Linked DNA regions of Homo sapiens: region 2 is linked to region 1. Evidence: promoter capture Hi-C in human tissues and cell types (Jung and others, 2019). All regions are on one chromosome and are shown on one strand. The core of a region is centred on a gene start or on the middle of the fragment in contact, and the rest is flanking DNA. Distances in the headings are between cores, read along the strand shown.

Region 1 (6,609 bases), core at 1,439-3,938:
GTCTGGCTCCAGGGTCCTTACAACGAATTAGTGACTGCAGGCACAAGCATAGAGTAACCTGACTCAAAGACCACTGAATTTTCTTCTAAGTCTGGGATTCCAGATGATTGTCTCACTAGTGCTAACAGTGAAGTATAGAAATGTGGGGGAAATATTTATGAAACCTCTTCCATTTGGAACACATTGGTGCTTCTCAAACTTTGGATGCCTGAGAATCCCCTGTGAAGATTCAGAATTTCAGGACTGGAATCCGGAAGATTTTGAGTCAATAAGGTTGGAATGTGGACCCAGTATCTATATTTTTAGCAAGAGCTGCAAGTGATGCTGGAGATCTTCTGATCACAATTTGAAAACATTGTACTAGGCCTATTCTCCAGAGGACCCTTTGGCTCAGATTCTGCATTCTCTTTCCAGGCCTGGCTCTCCTCTGTTGGAATGTGTCTGTAAGAATCCTTCGACTCTGCAGTGCTGCTGGTGCTATTCAGGACATCTTCAGCTTCAGAAGTTCCTTGGATGACAGGCACCATAACCCTTAACCCACTTGGTAATCTCTCATTTTTGGTCTGTCTCCTCTTGAGGGCCAAGGCTGTATCATACTCCTCTCTACATGCCCAGACCTTAATTCAGGGCACAGGAAATGTCTTCAGAATGAACTGATGAATAGCATGAGCTAGGGCTGTGCTCCAGACCCACCAGTCTTGCCTTTGAGAAGCTCACAGTTAAGAGAAGAACATGAATATCTAAATTAATAAACTGCAGGATCAGGTAATAGGTAGCCATAATTACCTAAATATTAGCAGCATGTTATATGTGCCTAGAGAACAAATGAATAATTCATTAAGGTGGATGGATGGCATGGGATGCCATGCTAGAGGAGTACATTAAGAGCTGTTAAAGCTAAATTGTGTCCCCCCAAAAATTTCTGTGTTGAAGTCCTAACCCCCATTACCTCAGAACATGACCATACTTGGAGACAGGGTCTTTACAGAAGTAATGAAGTGAAAACAAGGTCATGAGGGTAGGCCCTAATCCAATATGATGTATAAGAATAGACAATTAGGACACAGACGCATACAGAGGGAAGAGGGAAGACGGCGTGAGGACACAAAAGCGGGGCCATCTGCAAGCCAAGGAGAGAGGCCTCAGAAGAAACCAACTCTGCCAACACCTCGTGAGAAAATACAATTTTTCTTTTCTTTTTCCTTCCTTCCTTCTTTTTTTCTTTCTTCTCTCTCTCTCTTTCTTTCTTTATGAGACAGAGTCTCACTCTGTCACTTGGAGTGCAGTGGCCCGATCTTGGCTCACTACATCCTCTGCCTCCCGGGCTCAAGCGATCCTCCCACCTCAGCGTCCCTAATAGCTGGGACCAAAGGCACACACCGCAAAGCCTGGCTAATTTTTGTATTTTTTGTAGAGACAAGGTGAGCAAATAAATTTCTGTTAAGCCACCCAGTCTCTGGTACTTTGTTATGGCAGCCCTAACAAACAAATACAGGAGCAGATTATGAGAATTTACTAAACCAAACCACAGAAATTAAATTTTATCCTTTCAGCTGCCAGAAGCCCACAGAGGTGTCTAAGCATCAACGTGACAAATAAGCAGCTTTGGTTCTGCAATATAACCTGGAAATAGTGAGGACACCGACGTGGAGAATAGAGATGGGAGTTGACAGGGATCAATTGTTCTAATGCGGAATAATGCAAGACATAAGATCAAGCCAGCAGGAGTGAGAAACAGAGATCATATCAGGGTGATATCTGTGGGGCAAAAGTAACAAGAAGATAAGGTGTAGGCGGTGGAGGGTAAACCGCGAGGCTTCCATGAAGAAGAGTGGCCTGGGAAGTGAGGAGGACAGCGAAGCCCCAAACCTCACCTTGGGATACGGGAAGTGAAGCAGGTTCCAGAGAAGGGGACAAGATAATGACTTAGGGTAGGATAAATTTCAGACAATTGCAGAGCATCACATTAGATGTGTTCAGAAGAGTGGAAATAAAGTTCTGTGCCTAGGCCCTCATGCAGGATTCTGTTGCTAGAAGTCAGTGCTGGCCGCAGGGAGACCGGAGATCACAGTGGAGGCACCAGCGATCCGAGAGTCCTATGACGAATCCCTGGGATCCCCACAATGTGTGGAGACAGAAGCCAACCAAAGAGCGAGAAAGCATCTCCAAACCAGCAGAATCAGGGGCAGGAGGCCCGCCAAATGCACAGCAAGTCAGCCTTGGTAGTTTGCAAATGGAAAGATTTCTTTGACCCGCTGGAGACTTCAGCTCAGGCTGGATGTCGCTAATTCACACCATCTCACCAAAAGGTTCTTTCCCTGCCCTTTGGTGAATCGAGGCAGAAGTGGCTGGTGGATAACTGGGACCCAAGAGTTATCTCAGCGTCGGGCAGGCATCGACAGCTCCAGGAGCCCTTTCCCTGCAGGCGGGCTGGCGGGTGAGCGATTCCCTCCCTTCCCAGGCCTTCCCGGGAATGGAACGTGGGCGCCCGCGCCCGGGCTCCGGTTCCACTTGGAACGCGGACTCGGGAGCCGCCGGGCGAGCGCGCAGACCGCGGGGGCGGCTCCCTCGCACCTCCCCGCTCAGCGCGCCGCGGCGGATGGGCGAGGCGGGGCGAGGCCAGAGGGAGGCGGGCCAAAGGGGCGGGCGAGAGGACGCGGGACCGCGGGGAGGTCGGGGGCGGGGAGCAGGCGGCGGCGGGCGCCGGGAAGAAAGGAACATGGCTCCTGAGGCGCACAGCGCCGAGCGCGGCGCCGCGCACCCGCGCGCCGGACGCCAGTGACCGCGATGGTGAACTCCAGTCGCGTGCAGCCTCAGCAGCCCGGGGACGCCAAGCGGCCGCCCGCGCCCCGCGCGCCGGACCCGGGCCGGCTGATGGCTGGCTGCGCGGCCGTGGGCGCCAGCCTCGCCGCCCCGGGCGGCCTCTGCGAGCAGCGGGGCCTGGAGATCGAGATGCAGCGCATCCGGCAGGCGGCCGCGCGGGACCCCCCGGCCGGAGCCGCGGCCTCCCCTTCTCCTCCGCTCTCGTCGTGCTCCCGGCAGGCGTGGAGCCGCGATAACCCCGGCTTCGAGGCCGAGGAGGAGGAGGAGGAGGTGGAAGGGGAAGAAGGCGGAATGGTGGTGGAGATGGACGTAGAGTGGCGCCCGGGCAGCCGGAGGTCGGCCGCCTCCTCGGCCGTGAGCTCCGTGGGCGCGCGGAGCCGGGGGCTTGGGGGCTACCACGGCGCGGGCCACCCGAGCGGGAGGCGGCGCCGGCGAGAGGACCAGGGCCCGCCGTGCCCCAGCCCAGTCGGCGGCGGGGACCCGCTGCATCGCCACCTCCCCCTGGAAGGGCAGCCGCCCCGAGTGGCCTGGGCGGAGAGGCTGGTTCGCGGGCTGCGAGGTAAGAGCGCGCGACCCGCAGCGGCAGATGCACGAACCAGAACGGCCGGCGCCGGCCGGGGCCATCGCCCGCTGCGGCAGCTCCCCGGGCTCCATCTCGCATCCCCTCTGCGTTCCGCCTCCCTTGGAAGCGCATTCCCCACCTCCGCTAGTGCTGCCCTATTTCCGGTACCCAGCGCGGAATTCCACTGCTCTTTTGTTGGTGCATATTTATTGGATACCTCCTTCTTCAGGATATGTCACCATAGTCTTTTTTACTGAAAATTAGTGAAAGCCTAATTAGAGTGAAAGAGTACATCTGGGTTTTGTTTTTTTTTTTCTTGTAGAGGAAAAAATGAACATTACTTGTGTAACTGATGGTAGTTGCAACTGCATATTTGCCAATGTCACAAAATCTAAAGGAAAATGTTATAGTCACCCGTGGTTTCCTTCTTGCCTGGACACTCCATTGTCCCGGGCTGAAAAGGGTAGCAGTACAGTGCATATAATGTCAAGTTGTGGGAGGAGTGTGGCAGATTGTCATTGGTGCATTTTTTTGGTGATGTGTGTGGTTGTTTTGAGGAGTGGGAGCTGTTAAGAACACCACAAATAGAATAAAATAATATCGTGAAGTTATTTGGCCGTTTCTAATTCTAGACATTTTTCTAAAAACAGTTGCAAAGGAAAGATTACATTGTTTTAAAAAAATTTGAAGTATGTTTTTAAATAACTAAATTAATGTTCTTTGAAATTCCACCAAAATGATGAAGTCACCAGATAGCAGCTGATAAATGTGTCTGAGCCCAGTGCGCCCAGCTCTACAAAAGGCAGAAGAGGAATTTTCAAATTTGCCAGTGCCCAGTAAGAGGACATGAATTTTCTAGTACCAGAGGAAATTCTCTTTTTACAAATTTTGTCAGAGGTATCCTTGGGAAAGTATTTCATTTGCTTTTACCCTCCAAATTATTTTAATCTATATTTTTAAGAGTTTCCATTCTCAGTTGAGTTTTTCTTGTTCTTCTCCTTCTGTCAGTTTTGAAAGTCTTGCACAAAAACAATCCAGGTGTTGTTACAGCAGTGTGATTAAAACCAGGTCAGGCCTACACTGAAATCCCAGTTCCACCACTCATTAGCTGTACGACCTTGAGCAAGTTACTTATCCTCTCTGATACCCAATTTTTGGATTTTTTTTTTTTTTAAAGAGATGATCATAACGCTTAGGACTTGACTCTTTGGGAGAATTAAGTGAGTTAAGACATAAAATGTGCAGCATGTATTTGTCATGTTATTAGCGCTTCAGAAATATAAATGTAAACATTTTGGTACTTCGTTTATGGAGATTCTTATACTAGTTAATTTTATTAAAAGCATGATGGGGAACAGAAGATCCTTTTCGGATAACCTGTGTGAGTAAATTAATAAAACACTAACACTTTTTAAGATTCAAAACTGGATTAATTATGTTATTTTACACCATTTAAAATGTGCATTTAAAAAATATTCACTGAAGTGAGAGAGAAGTTCCTTTTAAGTTAATAAATAATGGTAAGTTGCATGATCCTTTTAACTCAGTTTAAGCATTTGATAACACCCCTAACCTTGTTTGAATAAACTCAATAACAGAATATAGAGAAATAAAATATATATTTCATATGAGTATGTATGTAAATTTATTTCTTTTAAAGGAAAATTTCAGGAAACAAAATGAATAAGCTCATAGTCATAAAACCTCTAGCCAAAGTGTGTCAATGGTCTGATTTGTAGGAGAGCAGACTCAGGAATCGGGAATTTTTTTTTTTTTTTTAAGAGTCGGGGTTTCACTCTGTCACTGAGGCTGGAGTGCGGGGAAGCAAACGTAGCTCACTGCGGCCTCAAACTCCTGGGCTCAAGCTGCCCTCCCACCTCAGCTTCCCAAGTAGTTGGGATTACAGGTGCAAGCTGCTGCTCCTAGCTGAAAAGTTTTAATTATATAAAATGTTTAAATAAATTGTTATTCCTTTCTTTTATGAAGAAATATAATTGATATTCTTGTCACTTATTAAATAAGCAACATTTTAAAATGTTTAGCACCTACTGTGAAGATAGCACTGTGCTAGCTGCTATGAATAAACTAGAATAGCATATCACTGTTTTCCTATGGACAAAAACCCAGAAATGTAAAATAAATAGCCATGAATGGGTTGAGATTCCCCCTGCCCCCTTTGGATACTGATGACAGAAATCTTATATGCACTATGTAAGCAGTGCCCTAGGATCAGAACAGAAAGTAACTTGCAATTTTTAAAGGTGGGAGAAATGACTGAAGTTTGGAGTGGTCAGGAGTTTCCCTGGAAGTCTCTTGCCTTTGTGACTTTGTATAGCTCCCTCAAACTACCTGAGCCTGAGCTCCTCATTTATAAAATGGAAGAATTGAACCTAGCTTCCAAGGTCCTTTCTAGCTTCACCATGCTCTGGTCTGTTGTTTAATGACATGAATCCAAGATGGACAACAAATGGTCGATTTTGCTCCTTCTACAGTAAATAGATCTATCTTCTTAGCAGAAGTAAAATAGTAAAGAAAGAAGACATGTTTGAGGCCTGTTGAGGCCTGTTTGCTGTATGCATTGTATCTAATCAAGGAATTGAGAATGTAGCCCTAAATATTAGGAAGGAGTTGAAAGTTTCTGAGCAGGAACAGAACATGCTGAAAGGAAATTGTGTCAGCAGCATGGTGTACAGGAGAGCTTGGCAGAGAGAAAGGAGGCAAGAAGACCTGTGGGAGGCAGCCAGTAAGGAGGTGAAGAGGGCCTGGACCAAAGGAAGCCAAGGATGACCGAAAGATTTAAAGATGAAGCCCAGATTTAAAAGTATCCTCAAGTATTTGTTTATTCTTTTCTTAGCAAATTCTTTTTAGTACAAAGATAAAATATGGCACTCTGAGTCATAAAATTTTCTGAATTTCAGAAGTTGAATGTTTTTCTGAATGTATCAACCTGTTAAAGTCAGTTCCTGTTTGTTATTTTAGGCGTATATTCTTGGGCTTTTTTTTTTTTTTCCTAGAGAAACTATGAAGTACTAGCTGTGCAAGTCAGGGTGGGCTAAGCTGCTAAAACAGATACCTCCCTCCCCTTCAATACCCTGAAGAACAAGAAGTTAATTTTTTGCTCGTGTAACATTTTAGAGAGGGTATTCCAGGTTGAATACCTGGAATAATGAATGAAATAATAAGTCGACTCTTATTTCTCCTAAAATAATTGGATCTTGACATTG
Region 2 (6,609 bases), core at 3,875-6,374, 1.1 Mb before region 1:
TTTCTGTGTTTCCTAGCTTCTTTATGGTTACACAGAATCAGGTGACTCATCTGTCCAGATAAGCAGTGAGTCACAGATAAGCAATAAACATTTATTTATTTAGCATAAGTTAACTCCAGATAGTAAGTAGTAAGTACTATGAAAAAATAGAAGTGTGGCCAGCACTGCTATTTTCCTACTCAGTAGCCATTCCTGTTTGTTCTTGTTGTCACTAAAAGAACTTTAATTGCTAAGAGACTACATTTGTCCAGTCTTAGGTAATAGATCATGTTTGTTCTCAGCCAGTGGTGACAGTTTGTATCTTGATTTACCTGCTTCCTTTAAAGCTAGAAGAACCTGGGTGACCTAGTTCTGGTTTTTTGATGGTAAAGATTTTTGGCAAAAATAGACAAATATGTCAGGCAAAGCCACACCTTCCTCTTCTCCTCCTCTTCGTGCCTTGAATATGAATGAGATCTCTCGTTCATAAGATGGACCATGGCAAGCATGAAGACAACATGCTAAATAGGCAAAGCAGAAAAAGTCAGAGTTCCTGATGCCTCATTGCATAGCTAACAGTATGCCAAGTAGCCACCCTCTTCTAGACTTGCTGTAGGAGAAACATAAACTTCTATTAATTTAAACAGTTATTACTTACAGCTAAACACATTCCTAACCCATATAATAAGCATAATGGAGTAGAGAGTTGTGGGTTGGCTGGAGAGAGTCCTTGAGGGACAGCATTGTCACATTAGCTTTGAGAGTCAGTGGAGGCCTCTCTGAGAATGTCATTGGAGCTGAGCACCTAATGATCAGAGGGAGCCAACAATATGTGGGATGTGTACTTGAGTGTAGCGTAGCACCAGAACCCCGTTGAACAAAACTTCAAAGTGTAGAAGAGATAGTTGGGGAAATTGTATTCCTTTATGGATTTCTGAGCTTGTGAGGTCCATGTGCATTGGAGAGCCTAGAGGAACTGTAGATGATCAGGTCAGTTTGGGGTCCTGGGAGATTATGATCTCTCCCAGGGGTAGATCTCTCTACTAGGGGTAGAGTTCTAGAGAATCAGACTAAAACAGAATGTATGTCCCATGACTTATCCCTAACACATTGCCTGTTACCAAGAGACTGTTATTCCTGGGTAAAGGAGAAGTATAGTTGACGAGGGACTAACTAGCCTACAGGCCTCTGAACAGAGTAATTTTTCTCATATTCTCCTTTGGAAACTAGATTGTGGTCCGGGGACTGGGGAGCTGCTTGCTCTGTTTGTCCAGTTGAAAAGTTCCCAGGCTGGGCTCAGTCGCTCACACCTGTGATACCAGCATTTTCGGGACCAGCCTGGGCAACATGGCAAACTCCTGTCTCTACAAAAAATACAAAAATTAGCCGGGTGCAGTGGCTCATTCCTGTAATCCCAGCACTTTGGGAGGCTGAGGTGGGCAGATCACCTGAGGTCGGGAGTTTGAGACCAGCCTGACCAACATGGAGAAACCCCGTCTCTACTAAAAATACAAAAAAATTAGCCAGGCGTGGTGGTGCATGCCTGTAATCCCAGCTACTCGGGAGGCTGAGGCAGGAGAATCGCTTGAACCCTGAAGCGGAGGTTGTGGTGAGCCAGGATCCTGCCATTGCACTCCAGCCTGGGCAACAAGAACGAAACTCTACCCAAAATAAAAAAAACAATAATAACATAAAATGAAATAAGCCAGGCATGGTGGCACACATCTGTAGTCCCAGTTACTCTGAAGGCTGAGGTGGGAGGTTTACTTGAGCCCAGAAGGTTGAGGTTGCAGTGAGCCATGACTGTGCCACTGCACTCCAGCCTGGGTGACAGAGCAAGACCCTGTAAAAAAAAAAAAAAAAAAAAAAAGTCTTCCCTAGTGTGTGGAATTGCCCCAGCACATGGTTTGGCCAGCCAAAAAAATAACTAGAACAACCACTATCATTTATTGAATGTTTACCATGAGCCAGTCATTGTGCTAAAACTTTTACAAACATTATGTCCCCGACGACAATCCCATGAAGCCCCTGTATTACTGATGAGAAAGCTGAGGCCTTAAGAAGAATAATTTTCTGGAGGTTTTTTTTTTTTTTGGACAGTCTTGTTCTGTCGCCCATGCTGGAGTGCAGTGGCGCGATCTCAGCTCACTGCAAGCTCCATCTCCCAGGTTCACGCCATTCTCCTGCCTCAGGCACGCGCCATCACGCTTGGCTAATTTTTTTTGTATTTTTAGTAGAGATGGGGTTTCACCATGTTAACCAGGATCGTCTTGATTTCCTGACCTCGTGATTTGCCCGCCTCGGCCTCCCAAAGTGCTGGGATTACAGACAGCCGCGGCGCCCAGCCTCGAGGTCTTATAGCTAGTTGCAAAGCAGGTCTTTTACCAGCATGTGGTAAAGACTCTTGAGAGTAGGTTCCCCAGAGTGTACTAGGTTTGGAAGCACTTAATGACCTAAGTGAACAGAATATTTGAAAACATCTTGAGTCACTTTTTATATTCATCTTCTCCCTTTTTTTCTATTTATGTATGTATGTGGTGTGAGTGTCCATAAAACTTACATATATGTGTATATACTCACATGTATGTGTATACACACTCTTGAATTATGAATTGTTTGAGGAAGAAAAGCAGTTTGATACACATGACATTTTAATTTCTGAATAAATTTGGTAAGCAAGAGAGGGAGGACTATAGAAAGGTCACTTAGATAGTAATGTACATTCCTGCCATGGAACATTCCAAAATGAAATAAAGTTTGCATCATTCACATAAAATTTAGTGTGGATATAGCTGCTACCATGTGTCAGTGTGCTAGGTATTTTAGCTAGGTGATATAATATATGCTTCTCAGTTACTCTGGAAGGTAGGAAGGTCTCTGTTTTACACATAGGGGCATGGAGGCTGATAGAGCTTAACTTGTCCAAGGTGATCATGCAGCTCACTTGAGCCTAGCTGCTTTCTGCTGTACAGCACTACTCTGTTTTTAAATAGAGCCAAGTTAGTATCTTCCTTATTTTCTTTTCCTTTTTTTTTTTTTTTTTTTTTTTGAGGCAGGGCCTTGTTTTTTCACACAGGCTGAAGTGCAGTGGTGTGATCACAGCTCACTGTAGCCTCCACCTCCTGGGTTCAAGCTACCCTCTCACCTTAGCCTTTTGAGTAGCTGGGACCACAGACATGTGCCACCTTGCCCAGCCTTTCCCAATTTTTTTTTTTTTTTTTTTTTTTTAGACAGGGTCTCTGTTACCCAGGCTGCAGTGCAGTGGCACAGATCACAGTTCACTGCAGCTTCCTCCTTCCTGGGCTCAACCAATCCTCCTGCCTCAGCCTCCTCAGTAGCTAGGACTACAGGCATGTGCCACCATGCCCAGCTAATTTTTCTATTTTTGTAGAGACAAGGTGTCACTGTGTTTCCAGGGCTGATCTTGAACTTAAGCAGTCCTTCTACCTTGGCCTCCCAAAGTGTTGGGATTACAGGCATGAGCCACCATGCTTGGCCCATGGAGGATTATATTGAAAGATTGATAGCATAACAGAATAAAAGGTGAAAATGCCCTTTTAAATCTCCTGCTCTGGCCTCTTCACCAAAGCTCTTCCCTTTCCAGAAAGCTACTATTAACAGTTTGGTATATGCTATTCCAAACTTTGTGTGTATGCATAAACTTAAAGCATTAAACAAAAAATTGGCTCACATTGTACATTTTATTTAGATCTTGCTTAGATTAACCCATGTGGTTCTTTTTGATGTTTTAAGGCATCTCATTATGATGTATCTGTAGTGCTCCTGAGCGGTGAGACCTGGGGGGTTGCTCACTCCTTCAGTTTTCTACTTATCAGTCCCGAGGACCCTTTTCCACTACAGATCTCTATGGCTTGCTCCTCACTTTAAGTCTTTGCTCAAATGTTGTGTTCTCTGACCACCCTACGTAGAACCGCAATACCCTACCTTGATTCCTCTCTGCACTCCCATTTTGCTTTTCTAACATCTATATATTTTACTGAATGTGTCTTTGCTTACCTTCTGTAGTATGTAAGCTCAATGGTAGCAAGAGTCTTTTCTTCACTATATTTTTTATGTTTTTTGAGGCAGGGCCTTGCTGTGTTACCCAGGCTGGAGGGCAGTGGTGCAATTTCAGCTCACTGCAACCTACATCACCCCCACCCCCCACCCACCCCCACCTGCATCCCTACTCAAGCAGTCCTCCCACCTCAGCCTCTTAAGTAGAGTAGCTGGGAACACAGGCATGCACCTCCACACCTGGCTATTTATTTTTATATTTAGCAGAGACGGGTCTTGTCATGTTGCCCAGGCTGGTCTTGAACTCCTGAGCTCAAGCATTCAGCCAACCCTGGCCTCCCAAAGTGCTGGGATTACAGGTGCACACCCGGCCCACTCTCTTTATTCTTAGTACCTGGCTTACAGCAGATGCTCAGGATACATTTGTTGGTTCTGTCAGTCAGTCAACAAACAAGTGAACTCAGGACCCCTCTCAGATTGATAGCCACCCAACAGCCCAACCTGTCTCCTTTTCTCCTGTTATCACTCTCCACCAAAGAGCCCTAGGGGTGGGTGCTATTGGGTTGCAAGCAGGTTGAGCATCTTCACTGGGAGGGTAATGTGGGGAACTGCCATCAGGGACTCTTCAGATGCCTCTACAGAAGTGTTATGAAGAATAATGCCAACAGGAATACAATAGTGTTTTATTGATCACTTACTGTGTGCCAGCCCTGCAAGTCAAGAGAGAGAAAGTGTGAGCAGCAAAGGCAGGGGTAGAGCTAGCGATGCAGAGAAAGAGAAAAAGGAGAAAGTGAGCGATAGTAAGTGGTGAGGGAAGGGAAGGGAGACTAGTGGGGATTGAGTTGGAGAATTGAGAAAACTTGCCTAGGGGGCCACTATTGCTGGTCAGAAGAGTGACACATGTTTGACCCTGAAAAGTAGATCTCTGCTAGTGTGAGTTTAACTAGAATATTTTAACATCCATGCTGCAATCTTTTGAGAGAGGAGAAAGAGTGGCAAATTATGTCTGCTAGTATGGAAACATGTAGTTAGCAAGTCAGCAATTTAAATTTCATGGAGAGGGAGATAAAAGACCTTATCGGGAGTAAGAATAGAGCTGTGAAGGACTATATTCAGTGTTTCAACCTCAGCCAAAGTTGTAACAGCCTCTTAAACAGAGGCAAGTTAAAATGATTACAAATTTAATGTGTGTTTCCATTTGTATCAAATGGTTTGTCCAGTCTGTACTAAGATAATTTAGTAACATACCTTTCTTTGCCTTAAGGATGTTTGAAAAGTAAAACAAACTATTTAATGCAAGTTAGGATAAGTGTAGTCAATTTATAAATACTCACTAGAGAGGGAAAAGGAAACAGCTGTAGACAGTGTTAACCATAAAGAGAGGTTGTTTCCAGAGTTACCCAAGATAGTACCAAGACTATCTGCCCAGATTGGATAATAATTTTTCCCCCAAATTCAGTCTTGTTTTGAAAGAATGCCCAATAGTTGTTTTATTTCGGTTTTTGTTTGTTTTTTTTTTGTTTTGATTAAGTACCTTTAATGAGTGGAAGTAAAATCTTAAGATTGATTGTCACTGGGACCCACTTTTCTTAAGTGTTGCATTCTTATGTGAGAATGACCTGTTGATTTCCTTTCTCTTGCATAGTTGACACTCTTACCTTTTCTTCCTTTTAATTCTAGTGAGGATGCTGACACAACCTGTGACCTTAGGCAAATTACTTAAAACTAAGTCTACATTTCTTGGTTGTTTTTTTTTGTGTGTGTTTGAGTCTCCATTTTCTTAACTATAAAATGGGATATTAGTATCTGCCTTGCAACTTTATTGTAATGTATTAATGAAATGCCATTTTTAAAAGGGCTTATTTATATTTAACACAATGCTTGGCACAAAGTAGGCACCAGGGGAATGGTATTTCCTTTTCTCCTCCCCCTCCTCCTTATGGTAAACTTGTGCACATTGTTTTCTTGCTGAAATGGCTTTGAGAAGCAGCCTCACAGTTAAAAGTGCAATTGGCCTTTGATATATACTAGATAGTTTGTTCATACAACTTGGGAATTGGAGAACCATTTTCTAATTCAAATGAGAACTTGGAATTCTGTCTCCAATAAAGCTTCTTACAGGTCATGCGTATCCCTGAATTTACTCACAGGCTAATGTTCACAGGCTACTCTTTGTTTCTCTTTCAGATGAACAGACTAGCCACTTTGCATTGACTGGAAACAATGGCATTTACAGAAAGAGTCAACAGCAGTGGCAACAGGTAAGCATAGAATCTATGATTCAAAGACATGCTGATATTTAATTTTATAATCTACTTTTCAATGAATAAGTTTGGTCTTTTTCAATTTTGCAACTTAAGAACTCACGGGTGCAAGAAAATGTTTGAAATTTTCAGTTTTCTCTACATGAAGTCAAACTTGTTGGACTGGCTACATATTTTCTTTTAAATCTAGCAATCGCTGAGTCTGTTAACTCATTTTTTTTAAAAATGTGGATGTTAATTTAAATGATTAAATCAGCATTCTAATGCTGTGTTCAGGATAACAAGATTGCACTGATTTGGGGAAAGCATACACATGTTCAGCCTGTGCTTGAAATAAATAAACAAATCC

The links. The method cuts DNA at HindIII sites, captures the fragments that hold promoters and counts their contacts. A contact is called where the count stands out against the background at its distance.
Region 2: a fragment that was not itself captured here is called in contact with the fragment with the promoter of PKD2 in region 1 in 1 of the 25 tissues and cell types used here (hippocampus).

What each region holds. Positions count from the first base shown.
Region 1 is chr4:88,004,947-88,011,555 of GRCh38, forward strand. It overlaps PKD2 (polycystin 2, transient receptor potential cation channel), which reads left to right and starts at 2,689. Exons shown (of 15, transcript NM_000297.4): 1 at 2,689-3,382. The coding sequence starts at 2,788. RefSeq lists silencers at 2,452-3,381, 3,432-3,571. The HindIII fragment of the contact is 15,667 bases long and covers 1-6,609 here.
Region 2 is chr4:86,942,315-86,948,923 of GRCh38, forward strand. AFF1 (ALF transcription elongation factor 1) reads left to right here. Exons shown (of 21, transcript NM_001166693.3): 2 at 6,184-6,257. The coding sequence starts at 6,220. Among named protein-coding and RNA genes, the nearest start is that of AFF1, 11 kb to the left of the region's middle. The HindIII fragment of the contact is 7,842 bases long and covers 1,204-6,609 here.